Linked DNA regions of Homo sapiens: all the other regions are linked to region 1. The links are contacts of gene promoters, found by promoter capture Hi-C in human tissues and cell types (Jung and others, 2019). All regions are on one chromosome and are shown on one strand. The core of a region is centred on a gene start or on the middle of the fragment in contact, and the rest is flanking DNA. Distances in the headings are between cores, read along the strand shown.

Region 1 (3,763 bases), core at 848-3,347:
TGAAGGCATTTTTTTCTGTCGGACTTCACTAAGCAAGTTAGATTTGGAGTCATGGGAAGATTATGAAGTGGTGGAAGAAAAGAATGAAGACTGAGTTCAATGTTATTTCCAAAGCCCTTCCTAGGAAAAGTGTTGTTTATTATTCATTTTGGAATTCTAATTATGGAGGAAACCTCCCAAAAACATAAATAAATTATTTAGCCAGAGGACCTAAGAAGTGCATCAAATTTCAAGTCAAATGGCTACAAGTTACTTATTACACCTAAATTTAATAAGCAATAGGATGTTTGTTCTTTATGTGTGGTATGGCTTCTAGAAGCAAGCTTTCCTCTCTGTAGCACAGGCAGGGTCCAACGGTCTAGGTTCAAATTCTTCCTTTACCACTTACTAGCTAAAAACTTAGGCAACTTATTTCACCTCTCTGTGCCTCAGTTTCTTTCTTTCTTTTCTTTTAAAGGCTCTGGCTCTGTTGCCCACACTAGAGCGCAGGGGTGTGATCCTGGCTCACTGCAACCTTAGCCTACCTGGTTCAGGTAATCCTCCCACCTCAGCCTCCTGAGTAGCTGGGACTACAGGCGTGCACCACCATGCCCGGCCAATTATTATTATTAGTTTTTTTGTTTTGGAGGGATGGAGTTTCACTATGTTGCCCAGGCTGGTCTTGATCTCCAGGGCTCAAGAGATTTGCCCACCTCGGTCTCCGAAAGTGTTGGGATTACAGGTGTGAGCCACTGGGCCCAGCCCTCAGTTTATCTGTAAAACAGGACAAAAGTAGTACCTACCTGATGGGGTTCTTCCAAGGATTAAATGAGCTAGTACTTATAAAGCACTTGCTAATGTCTGTTAAATAAATTATATTATCCACACACCAATCCAAGGCGACTATAAGGTAGCAAGAACCACTCCAAGTCACATAAGAAAATGAATTCCTTTCGTTTTAGCTCCTCTCTTTATTTCAGCAGTGCGTTGTCAACAGGGCCACATTATGTTAGCAGATTTGAACTTTATCCGAAAGGTGTTTGTATTTTATTTCAAATTATGAATTCCTGAACATCGGATTATGTACGATTCTGCAGTGCCCTCGGAGGCCCATTAGAGTCTGGAGCTCGAGAAGCATAACAAACTCTGGTCTGATATTTGTAAGGAGCTTGACAGCCAAGGAGCCACTCAGAAACAGTTATTGGTATTGCCAAAAAAAAAAAAAAAAAAGGAAGCTAAGAAGTCACCCTTCTAAATAAATAAATAAATAAATAAATAAATAAAAACCTGAATTGGAGAGCTGCCTGCATTTCACTCTACTGCCTCTGGAAGAAGAGTGTTATCTAAAGTGCTTCCATCATGAATAATGATTGAGAAACTGCTTTTACTCTCCCGACTACTGTACTCCCAGGCAGAAACCCACGGCTGAAGCCCACGATGCCCATGTGTAACTTGGTTATTACACACACGTTTGGAGCCCAGTGTGCAGACCCGCAGCGCAGAGGAGGCGGCGGAACACCCCGGGTTGGTCGGGTTTCCAAGGGCTGACCCGAGCTCCAGCACTTTTTCCGCGCCTGATTTTTCAGGTCATTTTCGAATGGGCTATCTTTGCTTACATTTTGAGCTTGGATCCTCTCCAGAAAGCATTACTACCTTCTAAAAGGAAAAACATCTCGTATTTGCAGACAGTGCTGAGGGAGCAAAGTTCATTTTCTCGGGTAGGAGAAGATGATTCTCTTGCAACACGTGCGGATTGTGACAAAATCTTTCATTAACAAGGGGAGTTTCGGTGAAGTGGAGGTTTGGGGAAAGGCGAGGAAGTCGGTCTGGAGCAAGCAAGCAAAGTGCGGAAGCTGTACTGGGATTCTTCTAGAAAGTGGGGTGGGAAAGGAGCTAGGGAGGGCGTGTGGAGGGACGAGATCTGTGTCAGAACGTGCGTGTGAGCGGATACAAAACCCGAGAGAGGCGTGAGCAGCGCTGTGTTTGCGAGCGGGAGCGAGGGGCGCCGGCTGGGGTGTGTGCTCCTGGTGAGTGACACCGAGGGGAAGGCGGGCGGGTCGGCGGGCGGGGGCAGCCTGCGAGGGGCGGGAGTGTCCCTGCGTGGGGCGGCCGAGCCGGAGTTGTGTCAGTGAAGGAATCCAGTCCGGGGGCCGAGCTGGCTGCGCCCTCCGCTGCAAGCGCCGGCAGCGCGGGGCGAGCTCCGGACGGCGCGCGGCCCAGGCAGCGGCTCCCGCTCGGCCCGCCCTCCGAGCCGCAGGGGCCGCCACCGCCGCGGCGCCTCCCCTGGCGACCGCGCCCCCGGGCCCCGGCTCCGGCCCGGGACGGAGGAGCCGGCGCTCGACACAGAGGTAAGCCCAGGACCCCCTCCACGCCGGGCCGGCTGGGGATGCAGGGCGCGGGCGGACGCGGAGGGGCCTGCGCGGCCGGGACGGAGACTCGGCTGGGCCGAGCATTCCGCAGCCCGGGCCGCCCAGCCTCCGCCGCCTCCCGGAGCGCTGGGTGTGGCCCGCGCTCGGCGCCGAGGCGGGCTGGTGGCGCGGACCGGACGCGAAGGTCGCCGTCCTTCCTTTCTCCAGCCGGCGCGGGCAAGCGGGAGGAGGCGCCGGCTGGGACGCACAGTGGCGCTCCCCGGGCGAGCGTGTGGCCGCCGCGCTCCGACGTGTACCCGCCCGCCCCGGATCTGAATCGCCCGCGGCCGCCGTCCCTCGCCTGCCGTCCTCCCGCGCGGGCGCCCCCGTTCCCTCCCAAGCCGGAAAGAGACCCACCGTCCCCCAGGCTGCTCTCTGGCCCGGAGCCGCAAAGCCCACGTCAGCCGCGACCACCCCGCCCTCGGATCCCAGCCGGGTGCGGGGGCCGCGGCCCCACTGAACCCCGCGCCCCTGGCGCCCAGCGGGAGTGGGATGCGTTGGCGTCCGCGCTGCGCGGGTGGGCTGGGGTGGCCGGAGCAGACGCGGAGCGCCCTGGCCGCGGGACGAAGCGGTCGCGCCGCCGCATTTGGGCGGGGGGACCCCGGAGTCCGCGGGCTGCGGACCCCAGCGGGAGACGGGGTTGTCGTAGGATGCGCTCGCGCTGGACGCCGGCGCACTCTGAATATCATGCTGCCGCACACGCGGGGCTGAAGGGCCGAGTCTTCACCTGCGCGGGGATGCGGCGGAAGCGTCGCGTCTTCGCGAGTGGAGGTTTCGTGTTCCCGCGGGGTTGGTGTGTTTTTGAACTTCACGAGCTTCTCATCCCCCCCGCAATCCTGGTTTTAGCAGATGTCGGGGTTTTGGAGACCTGACACTTTTCGTGAAAGATTCTTTCTGTACGTTTTCTTTTGGCTATATTACAGGGTTTGTAGCTTGAGAACTAGTGAAAACCCTTGAACTTCAAACACAGTCTCATTGCTTATTTTTTGAAATTTAAATATTAAAATATGTACCAGCCCCCTCACAAGCCGACAGACTTTAAGACAAACGACTGTGAAATTTTAGAACCTGTGCAGAGAAAGTGGTTTTATACCAGTACTTGAAATAGTAAGGTCGTGTAACCTTTTTAACATCGTTTTAGTTTGTCTTAAAGGAAGGTTTCAGCACCACTTTGACTGGTACTGTTTTCCAGAGTTTAAGCAGATGTATGTAATATAGCAGGGAAGAGGACAGGAAGTCAGAAATCTCTTCACTCTGAAAAAAAAAAAAGACTTCAAATAATACAACCAATACCCTGAAAATAGAGTGGCCGTCTGGATAAAGTATTTGATAGGCCTTATGAAATTGTGTTGCTTAACCAGAAAGCAATGTGTTGT
Region 2 (3,763 bases), core at 770-3,269, 500 kb after region 1:
AAAATTTCTGAAGTCATGAAACCCCAATGTTCTTAATGGTATTTTATAGCCCTTTTTACCTGGTGATACGGTTTGGATGTTTCTCGCCTCCCAAATCTCATGTTGAATGTATTTCCCAATGTTGGTGGGAGGTGATTGGATCGTGGAGGCGGATCCCTCATGAGTGCTTTAGCACCAACACTTTGGTAATAAGTAAGTTCTCACTCTGAATTCCCGTGAGATCTGGTTGTTTAAAAGTGTGTGGCACCTCCCACCTCACTCACACTTGCTCCCACTCTCACTATGTGATGTCCCTGCTCCCACTTCACTTTCTGCCATGATTGTAAATTTCCCAAAGCCCTCACCTGAAAGCAAATGCTCGTGCCACACTGGCACAGCCTGCAGAACCATAAGCCAATTAAACCTCTTTTCTTTATAAATTACGCAGCCTCAGGTATTTCTTCTTCTTCTTCTTTTTTTTTTCTGAAACAGAGTCTCACTCTGTTGCCCAGGCTGGAGTGCAGTGGCGTGATCTCAGCTCACTGCAACCTCTACCTCCTGGATTCAAGCGATTCTTCTGCCTCAGCCTCCCCAGTAGCTGGAAATATAGGTGCGTGTCACCACGCCTGGCTAATTTTTTGTATTTTCAATAGAGACAGGGTTTCACCGTGTTAGCCAGGATGGTCTCCATCTCCTGACCTCATGATCCGCCTGCCTTTGCCTCCCGAAGTGCTGGGATTACAGGCCTGAGCCACCGCACCAGCCTCAGGTATTTCTTTATAGAAACACAAGAACGGCCTAACACGCTTAGGTTCTGAAAGTTCTTCGTGGCATTTAGGTATTGAAAAATGTGAGTTGAATTCAAAGCACAGGTATAGAGAACTAACAGAGAATTTCATTTCAGCACTTACTATAACTAGTCACCTAGTGCTAAGGATCTCTGTGCTGGGCAAGCCTTATTGTATAAAGTTCTCTGATGCTAAAGCCTTCTATACTGGTTAAGTTCTGGAAAATGAAACTGCTTTTTTAAAGAAAACTAATTTTATCCCAGAAAGATCTGGGAAATCTTCCAAGACTGCTTTTTAAGAGTAGGACCTGAAATGTATCATTAGAAAAAAGGTTCCACTTTTTCTTATCAGATAAATTGACATTAAGTTTACTTAATGGTAGTCCATGGCCTTGTTCTGGAAGACTAATAATCATCAATTCTATCTATAGTTAGCTTGCTTTGAAAGCAAGGCAGCCTTACTTTCTCACAAAGTTTCTGTGAAGAATTATAAAATGCATGTGAAAATATTTTGTAAACAGTAACATCCTCTATAAATTTAAGGTCTACTGTGACCACTCTATTACTACTAATAGTAGTACATACCAAGTAATAGCAGTAGTACTACTAATAATAGCAATAAGGCAGTGATTAAGTTCTATTTAGTTTAGTTGCTTTTTCATCTTAAATAAAAACTTTCCATCAGCTGGGCGCGGCAGCTCACACCTGTAATCCCAGCACTTTGGGAGGCTGAGGCCGGCGGATCACTTGAAGTCAGGAGTTTGAGACCAGCCTGGCCAACATGGTGAAACCCCGTCTCTACTAAAAATACAAAAATTAGCCAGGGGTGGTGGCACGCACCTGTAATCCCAGCTACTCAGGAGGCTGAGGCAGGAGAATCGCTTGCACCCGGGAGGCGGAGGTTGCAGTGAGTGAAGATCGCACCACTGCACTCCAGCCTGGGCAACAGAGAGAGACTCCGTCTCAAAAAAAAAAAAAAAAAAATTCCATCGCACTGAGGCTCCCAAAAAATGAAATGTAGGTTTTAAAAAAGACATCAAAGAAAGATGGCCATCTAAATATGCCAAGGAAACCGTTATGCATTGGAGATAATTTTCCAACACAGAGATGTTTGGATCTGGCGTCCTTAGTAACATTTCTTTTTTTTTTTTTTTGAGACGGAGTCTCACTCTGTCGCCCAGACTGGAGTGCAGTGGCGGGATCTCGGCTCACTGCAAGCTCTGCCTCCCGGGTTCACACCATTCTCCTGCCTCAGCCTCCTGAGTAGCTGGGACTACAGGCGCCCGCCACCACGCCCGGTTAATTTGTATTTTTAGTAGAGACGGGGTTTCACCGTGTTAGCCAGGATGGTCTCGATCTCCTGACCTCGTGATCCGCCCGCCTCGGCCTCCCAAAGTGCTGGGATTACAGGCGTGAGCCACCACGTCCGGCCTCTTAGTAACATTTCTTAATCTTCAGTTCTGCAGTAATATTCTAGGAGATATGAACTATTAATAATAAGCAGTAAACAGTTTTTTCTAAACAATCCTATAGCTAACATACCACATGCCATTACACTGTTCTCTTGTTGGTTTTTATTTTGCTTCGTTTTAATGAATGTCTTGAATGCTATATAACTTAGAATGCACATATTTAAATCACCCCAAATATCACTTATTTGGCAACTCACTTCAAACTATATTCTGAACAAGCACTTTACAGGAGCAAAGAGTTTTCACCTTAACCTGTCATTATTCTGATGTTAAGAGGGGAGAGAGAGAAACAGAAAATGCATGTATGCCAAATTTCTTGAATCCCTAAGCTTCCCAATTATTTCGGCCTATTCAAAAATCGAGTCCAGGTGTGGTGGCTCACGCCTATAAATCCCAACATTTTGAGAGGCAGAGGTGGGAGGATTGCTAAAGCCCATGAGTTGGAGGTCATTCTGGGCAACATAACCAGATCCTGTCTCTATTAAAAAAAAAAAAAAAACTAAAATCTAAATAATAGAGTGTGTTTGCTAAAAGAGGGTATTTATTTAACAAATATTACTAAAATGTTAATGTAACTAAGCAATGCTTTTTATCTTGATTATGTCAAATATTATTAATAATTATAACTATTAAAATAATTCTATGAAGAAGTAAAAGAAATGGTATATATGAGATATGTAGCAAGTGAATGATATTTAACACATTTTTTACCTAAAATGAAATTATTTAAAAGCTCATTGTACCTCAAAGCTTTTTCACTGTAAAAATTTTGTGGAGCCTATGAAAATACTTCTGGCCACACATACATACATAAATATATGCATACATATATAGGTGTGTGTAACTAGAAGTATTTCATATACATATGCTACAATATTTAAGCCAGGTTCATAGGATGTTCTATAAGCTTCTACAAGACTCAAAGCATAGGAATAAATACTTCCCCCAGCTCATTTTCCAAGGGCAACAATGTGCTTTTCAAAACAGGCCCTTGATATTCTTCTAGTTGTTAGGAATAAAAACCTATTGTCACTTGCTTTTAAAAAAGAAACACTTAGGTATCCATTCCCATCAATGAAGTTAAAAGCAGTAGCACATTCACATGTTGCACTTAGCACCTTTCTTTTTAAGTAGTTCAAAATTTTTAAATCCAAAAGTACTAAGGGGGATTCACAGCAATGGCAGAGTGAAGAAATCAGCATATCCTTTTTCCCAAAACAACCATAAAACTGGGCAAGGCTAGGCGTGATGATTCACACCTATAATCTCAGCACTTTGGGAGGCTGAGGCGGGAGGCTCACCTAAGGCCAGGAGTTTGAGACCAGCCTGGGCCACAAAGCAAAACCCCATCATCACCAAAAAAAAAAAAAAAAAATTAGCAGACTCAGTGGCTCATGCCTGTAGCCCAATTACAAAGAAGGAATGTGTTCACATCCATGACTAAGAAAGGCTTATGGGAAAAAAGCAGTAGTTGAGATAAGGCTTGAAACAATAGTGGGATTTTGACAGTGGAAAATGAGGGAAG
Region 3 (3,763 bases), core at 886-3,385, 430 kb after region 1:
TCCCGAGTAGCTGGGACTACAGGCGCCTGCCGCCACCCCCATTTAATTTATTTTGTATTTTAGTAGAGGCGGGGTTTCACCGTGTTGCCCAGGCTGGTCTCGAACTTCTGAGCTCAGGCAATCCACCCACCTCGGCCTCCCAAAATGTTAGGATTACAGGCATGAGCCACCGCACCTGGCCAGTTTTTATCATATATAAATTCCTACTCTCTTATTATTCATTTCATCTCATTTCTTGACTCTCATCTTTTACACTTATTTTAATGATTTGACTATTGTATTTGTATTTAATATGAATGCTTTCTATAAATAGACTCATGTAAGGCTTGTTTAGGAAATAAGTGAAATTGAATTAAATACGTATGTCTAACATGAATCTATTAAGTTTCTCAGCAGATGAAAAAGACCTTCCTTATAACAACACTTGTCATACCTGAAGAACATTATTTAGCCAGTTCTTAATCTTCTCTTTACCAGAATTGATCACAAAAATTTTAACTCATTTTTAGCTTTTGAAACAATGACAAGTTTACAGAAAATTTGCATGTACAGTACAAAGAATTTTTTTTACCCTGAATCATTTGAGAGTAAATTGCTGACCTAATGCCCCAAACCCCTGAACACTTAAGAGTTTAGTCCTACACACTATACAATATACCCATCAGAATCCAGAAATTAACAGCAGTTCACAACTACTATCTAATTATCAGACTCCATTCAAGATTCGCCAGTTGTCCCAATCAAGTATTTTATAGCAAAAATATTCAATACAGAATCTCACTTTTCATTTAGTTGTCCTGTCTCTGAGGTGTCCTGGAGCAGGAATCAGGTCTCCCCTCTCTCTTTGACATCATGACTTTGACACTTCGGAAGAGTTTGGCCAGTTATCTTGTCCAATGTCTCCCATTTTGAGTTTGTCTATTGTTTTGTCGTGGTTAGATCGATGTTATGAGTCTTTGTCAGAATATTACAAAAGTGACTCTGTGTTCCCCTCATGGCATCCTGCCAGGTGACACATGACTTCAACATGTCCCACTTGGTTAAGATGGTGTCTACCAGGACTCTCCACAGTGAGGTGGTTTTTCTCCTTCTGTAGTTAATAAATATTCTGTGGGGAGATACTTTGAAACTATGTAAATATATTGTTCCTCATTAAACTTTCTGTTTATTTTTTATTATTATTATTATTTTTTGAGACAGACTCTCGCTCTGTCGCCAGGCTGGAGTGCAGTGGTGCAATCTCAGCTCACTGCAACCTCCACCTCCCAGATTCAAGCAATTCTCCTGCGTCAGCCTCCCGAGTAGCTGGGACTACAGGTGTGCGCCACCACGCCCAGCTAATTTTTGTATTTTTAGTAGAGACAGGGTTTCACCATGTTGGCCAGGATGGTCTCGATCTCTTGACCTCGTGATCCACCCGCCTCAGCCTCCCAAAGTGCTGGGATTACAGGCGTGAGCCACTGCGCCTGGCCAACACTCTTTTTGTTACTGCCATTCTACCCCTCAGGTCCACCCCACAGCCTGTCCAATTAGCTATGTGAGTTAACTGCTCAGTTTGGTCTCTGCAAAGCAGAGCTAAAACAAACAATGCGCCTTCCTTTAGGGCTCTTAAAATTAAAGCATGAGTACCCTCTAGTGGCTTGCAGGAAAGTTTCCACGATTCTCGAACTTTTCCTAAGTCCCAGATGAGTGAAGGACACTGGCAGGGGTGGGATGTACTGGAGCCAGATGTGTTCCCCACCAGCACACCCAGGAAATACATTTTTGCACAGCTGTAATTTTGACTTAAACATTTGTTTAAGGTTTGCATGCTCAATCATATGACCTACATGTTTGGCTCAGTATACATTTGTTTTCTCAAAATCTTTAGTATAGTGAGTGCTCCAGAAAGTCATTGCATGTTTACCTCATAGACCCATGAACTCTGAAAAGCATAGAGTTCCACTGAAATGCCCTTTCTGAGAATCAAAGTTGAAGTTCTTTTCACTTGCATTGGAAGAAACCTAGATTTTGTGACCAGAGATGGAATAAAATATGAATAGAACCACATTAAGTAGAATGTTCTCAGTATAGCCTGGCAGAAGGTGTGTCGTGCCTAGCATGAGGTGACATGGTGATGTGTGCAATGGAAATGGAGTTATTTGGCTTCAAACTGTGTTTGAACTCTTATGAGGATTCAGGCAATAGAGCAGACAGGGATACTTCAATCCCCACTGGGGTTGAACTGCCCTTTTCCCTCTGTGTCAAATAAGAGGTGGTGATGCTGGTCTATGTGATGCTTCTGACCTTAATAATAATTATGTTTTTTTGTTTCTGGTTTCTCCTCCACTAATAAGGCTCTGGGTCTTCTCCTTAGGGAGAAGGAATTGTATGACTGAAAAAAAAAAAAAAAAAAAAAAAAGCTTGATTTTCCTAGTACTCCTGCAACGATAAGGCAGGCCAGGACCTTCCAGAAGTTAAAAAACAGGCTCCACTGAAACCTGTGATAAGGAAGCAACAGACCATCACTGATGGGTCTGGGATGAAATTAGATCCCCTGTTACAGAGTACATTTTAGGAGACGCTAAAACAGAAACAGGGTGAGAACTCCAGGCTGAGACATTCCAGCGGGGAGGGATAGTTTAGATTTGTTTAGCATAAGGATAACAAGGAGCAGCTCATGGTTCCCTTATCAACTAAATTAGCTGAGATTACTGAGGCAGCGGGGTGTTGCATGAGTATGCTGGCAAGGTGGGGGAGGTGTCATGCCAAGTACATTCTTAATATTGATAAAATACAGCTATGTAGGAGGGTGAAATATTCTCAAAGATTAGTCAACAAGAGATAAATCAAAGCCCAACCTGATAAAAACAGACTAACTGCAATTAGAACCAGCCCAGCTAGTAATGTCAAGTCACTCTACGTTAGTGTTTCATTCTGCAAACCCCGGGTGTGAAGGATTAATTTTAAAAGGCTGCCTAACTCATCTCCTGGGGGTTTGGGTGACTACTTCACTTTTTAAGACTGATTTGAACCCTTTCATCCTTACTGAAGAAAAACCCTGAAGCTCATGCTAATATCCTGCCAATACTCACAACTTATGGCTCCAAAGTTGGTTGAAATTTTGAATTATTTCCTTGCCAGTTAGCAAATAGCATTACTTCGATCGCTAGATGCTCTCCCATTACTTCCCTGGACCCTTCCCAGGAGCCCCCAACTTCCTCATACCCAGTAACGCTCAACATAAATGGCTGGGGCAGCTCCTTACATGGGCCAATTGACCAGTGCCCCTCACAAAACTGATTGTTGAAGATTTTGAGTATCGGGTGCAAAACCTGAAATCCAAGCATTACAGATTTTAGACAACAACCTGGGGAATTGAATGACCTTTGCCTTATTGTAATGCCATTCGATTTATCCCCCTTAATCACAAAGCAACTTTGCATAGCTTCACCACAATCAGTCAGGAGGAGGTCATGGAAAATTCTGGTAAGGTCTGCCACCTGCAAGTTTTTGCTGTCATTCCTTCTCTCTAGCCTCTATTTCCTTGTGTCTGTCAAAAGAAGAATGTGGACCAGCCCAGGAGATCTCACTCTGGCTGTGTAAAAACACCTTGAAGCCTTTTAAAAATCTGCAGAGATCCAGGCTGGGCGCAGTGGCTCACGCCTGTAATCTCAGCACTTTGGGAGGCCAAGGCAGGAAGATCACTTGAGGTCAGGAGTTCGAGACCAGCCTAGCCAACATGGTGAAACACCGTCTCTATTAAAAATACAAAATTAGGCTG
Region 4 (3,763 bases), core at 524-3,023, 270 kb after region 1:
GTCCAGGCTGGTTCTCATCTGGAGGCTGTGCTGGGGAAGAATCTGCTTCCAAGTCACACAGGTTGTTGGCAGAATTCATTTCCTTGTGGTTCTGGACAGAGGGCTTCATCTTCTTCTTGTTGACTAGAGGCTGTCCTTAGCTTCTTGCCACACGGCCTCCTTTACAGCATGGCCACTTACTTCAAAGCCAGCTGTGGAGAATCTCTAGAGCAAGTCCTGTAGCAGGATAGAGTCTTATATAACAAAATGTCATCTCGGAAGTGAGACATCTCATCACCTTTGCCAGTGGTCTCCTTGTTTATTGTAGAGGATCTATAGTATGTTTTAATGTCTGGTAGGGCTAGTATCCTCTCATGGTTTTTCTTTTTCATTGTTTCCCTCACTGTTCTTGAATGTTTGTTGTTACAAATGAATCTTAGGATGGTATTGACTTGTCTGGCTCGGTTTCATAACCTTGGCACTGTTGACCTTTGGGGCTAGGTATTTCTCTTTTATGGGAGGCTGTCCTGTGTATTGTAGGATGTTTAGCTGTATCCCTGACCTCCATCCACTAGATGTCAGTAGCACCCTCACATTTATAACAACCAAAAATGTCTCCATATGTTGCAAAATTTCAACTGGGAGGCAAAAGCATCCTGAGTTGAAAACCACTGGTCTATAAGTATTTAGTTTTCTTTGTTGCTATTATATATGGACATGTAACTGATGCCCAATGTTGTTCGTATATATGAAAGCTGTTGAATTCTGTGTCAGTTTATATCTTGTTACTTTCTGAACTCTGTTATTCTCTTATCTCACTGATTGTCTTGAGTTCTCCAGGTATAGTATGATATCATCTGAAAATAGAGATAGTTTTACTTCATTACCCTGTTTGTATGCCTCTTACTGTTTTTATATTAGCATTGGCTAATAACTCAGGTACAATGTTAAAATAGTAGCAGGAATAGTAGGCATGCTTGCCTTGTTCCTGATTTTAGTAGAAATGCTTCTGTTGAAGTATTTTTGTCTCTCCATTAAACAAGATACTTGCTGTAGGATTAAGATATGTACATAATTTACTAAGAAAATGCCCCTTGATGCCTATTGAGTGTTTTTATCATGAATGATTGTTGAATTTTGTCAAAGGCTTGTTCAGCATTTATGAAGATAGTAATATACTTCATTTACTTACATGTATTAACATGGCATCTGTTGATGAGTTTTCCAGTACCGAACTAACCTTGCTTTCCTGGAATAAATCTCACTTGATCACGGAGTATGTTTTTCATAATGTGATGTTGAATTGAGTTTGCCAAAATATTTTGTTTAGAATTTTTATATCAACATTCATAACTGATGTGAGTCTATAGTTACCCACCTTTGAATTGTCTTTATCTGGCCTAGGTATCATATTAAGGGAATCAAGAAAGTCACCATCTTGGTTCCTTTAATGAAATAATTTATATTTCATTATAATTTATAGTGCATTATAATTTATGTTTATAATTATTTGTATGTTATATACTTATATAATTTTAGAACAGTGGGACTCTCTGGTTTTTGTAAGTTTGTTAGCATCCCCCTCTGAAACCATCTGGACCTAGTACTGTTTTGTGTGGGATAGTTCCTTAATAACGTTGACTGTTTTTTGTGTGTATGAAAATTAGTCTGTTTAAGCTTTTTTGCTGTAATGGGGTCAATTTTTGTTATTTGTATTTCCACAGGAAATTATCCATTTCATCTAAGATTTCAAATTTATTTGCATAAAAGTCTGCAAAGTATCTTTTATGAATTAGACATGTAAATTAATTTTAAATCTTTTTTCCCATAATTATTTTACCTATATCATTTATTATTTTTTGTGTTTGTTCTTTTTCTCTTTTTCTTGATCAAATTAGGTAGTAGTTTATTTATTAACTTTTCCAAAAAATCAGTACTTTGATTTACTAATTGGATCTATTTTTCTGTTCTCTACTTCACTGACTTCTGCTTCATATTTATTATTTCCTTCTTTGTGTTTTCTTTGATTTACTTTATTATTGTTGTTTTCCCATTAAAATTTATTGTTTTTATTCTTTCATTTATATAGATAACAGTGTTTTATGGACAGGCACAGTGGCTCACACCTGTAATCCCAATACTTTGGGTGGCTGAGGTGAGAGGATCACTTGAGCCCAAGAGTCGGAGACCAGCCTGGGCAACACAGGGAGACGCTCACTCTACAAAAAATTTAAAAATCAGCCAGGCACATTGGCATGTGCTTGTAGTCCCAGCTGCTACTAGAGAGGCTGAGGTGGGAGGATAGTTTGGGCCTGGTAGGTCAAGGCTGCAGTGAGCCATGATTGTGCCACTGCACAGAGAAAGATCCTGACTCAAAAAATTAAAAATAAAAATAAGTAAATAGAACACACACAAAAAAATTTTTTTTTAAAGTGTCTTTTGCAATCAATTTTTCTCTGATCAGTGCTTTCAATGTATCTTGATTCTGATACATAGTGTTTTCAATGTCGTTTTTAAGTTTCTCCTTTTCTTTAGGAGTTATTAGGAGGTTTTAAAAATTCCAGGTAGATGAACCTTTCTGGTTTTTTGTTTTTATTTGTAAATCTAGTTTTATTGCATTTTGGTCAGAAATTATTTATTGTAATATTTCTGCTTTATGGAAATTGCCAGTATTTTCTTTGTGACCTACTATAGGATCAGCATTTATAACTGTGCTGTGATTGCTTAGATGTATATTCTCCATAATCAAGGTCTAAAGTTTGATATATATCCATGAGATTTACTGTATTTATTATGTTGCTTAGATCTTCTGTTTCTTATTTTTTGTAAATAAGTGATCTGTTTTGTACTAAGGTTATACTAAGAGTTGTATATTAAAATCTACTGTGTCCTGTGTTTCCATGTATCTCCTGTAGTTTTTGCTTCAGAAGGGTGGTTGCTCTGCTTTTTGCTATGTAAATATCATGATTATTACTTATTCATTTTGGATTATGGCCTTTATTATATTAAAAATGTCCTCATTTGTCATGTTCAGTGCTCTGGACTAAAGACTTAAAGTCTTTAAGATATAAAGACTTTAAAAACATATTTATGAGACCTTCCTGATAACTCCTACCACTCCTATCTTCAATACCTATGATGATCATTCCATAATAGCAAGCAGCTTTAATTAGGATGTACTTTCATGGGAGCTACTAGAAGCTGTGATATACCTAGTGTATACCATTTCCAATCCAAAAAGAAGGAAGAAAAAAAAGTGGCAACTGGATGGTCATCACTCGGAATTTATACTGAATGTTGTGGCTTTTGCTTTTAAAAATTTTACCAACTAAGCTGTATAGCAAATCATCTGCATGCACTGTACATTTAAACTAAAATAGAACCTTATTTCCTTACAGCATTTTGCTGTGTTTTATTTAGAATAGGTACTTCTTTTGAAAGGATTAATTAAACTCTATCTAATTACCCAAGGCAGTGGTATCACACTGGCTCTGAAGAGGAGTACGAAGGAGTGAAAGAGACCTTTCCACCTAATCTTGTATACCTTTTTAAATTTGGGACCATGTCTATGTATTTCATCTAAAAACCACATTTACACACATGCATGTAAAATATAACTAAACTCCATAACTTGAAACATGATGTATTAGGTGCAGGAATCTACCCTCTTACTGAAAAAATAAAATTATTGGGTAAAATACTAAAAAACATACCTTGAATGCATTTCTTAACTAATGACTATTAGCCAACCAACATTTCTTTTAGTAGGAAAGTAAGAAAAGCT

What was found. The method cuts DNA at HindIII sites, captures the fragments that hold promoters and counts their contacts. A contact is called where the count stands out against the background at its distance.
Region 2: a fragment that was not itself captured here is called in contact with the fragment with the promoter of SPATS2L in region 1 in 1 of the 25 tissues and cell types used here (hippocampus).
Region 3: a contact is called between a fragment that was not itself captured here and the fragment with the promoter of SPATS2L in region 1, in 1 of the 25 tissues and cell types used here (hippocampus).
Region 4: a contact is called between a fragment that was not itself captured here and the fragment with the promoter of SPATS2L in region 1, in 2 of the 25 tissues and cell types used here (hippocampus and liver).

What each region holds. Positions count from the first base shown.
Region 1 is chr2:200,304,596-200,308,358 of GRCh38, forward strand. It overlaps SPATS2L (spermatogenesis associated serine rich 2 like), which reads left to right and starts at 2,098. Exons shown (of 13, transcript NM_001100423.2): 1 at 2,098-2,327. RefSeq lists an enhancer at 1,473-1,572 and silencers at 1,983-2,712, 2,733-3,062. The HindIII fragment of the contact is 4,989 bases long and covers 1-3,763 here.
Region 2 is chr2:200,805,470-200,809,232 of GRCh38, forward strand. All of the region lies in intron 1 of BZW1-AS1 (BZW1 antisense RNA 1), which reads right to left. Among named protein-coding and RNA genes, the nearest start is that of BZW1, 4.6 kb to the right of the region's middle. The HindIII fragment of the contact is 3,486 bases long and covers 277-3,762 here.
Region 3 is chr2:200,734,256-200,738,018 of GRCh38, forward strand. It overlaps LINC01792 (long intergenic non-protein coding RNA 1792), which reads right to left and starts at 922. Exons shown (of 3, transcript NR_037886.1): 1 at 782-922. It also overlaps the pseudogene AOX3P-AOX2P and the pseudogene AOX3P. The HindIII fragment of the contact is 3,272 bases long and covers 500-3,763 here.
Region 4 is chr2:200,578,467-200,582,229 of GRCh38, forward strand. All of the region lies in intron 8 of SGO2 (shugoshin 2), which reads left to right. Among named protein-coding and RNA genes, the nearest start is that of AOX1, 5.7 kb to the right of the region's middle. The HindIII fragment of the contact is 7,879 bases long and covers 1-3,763 here.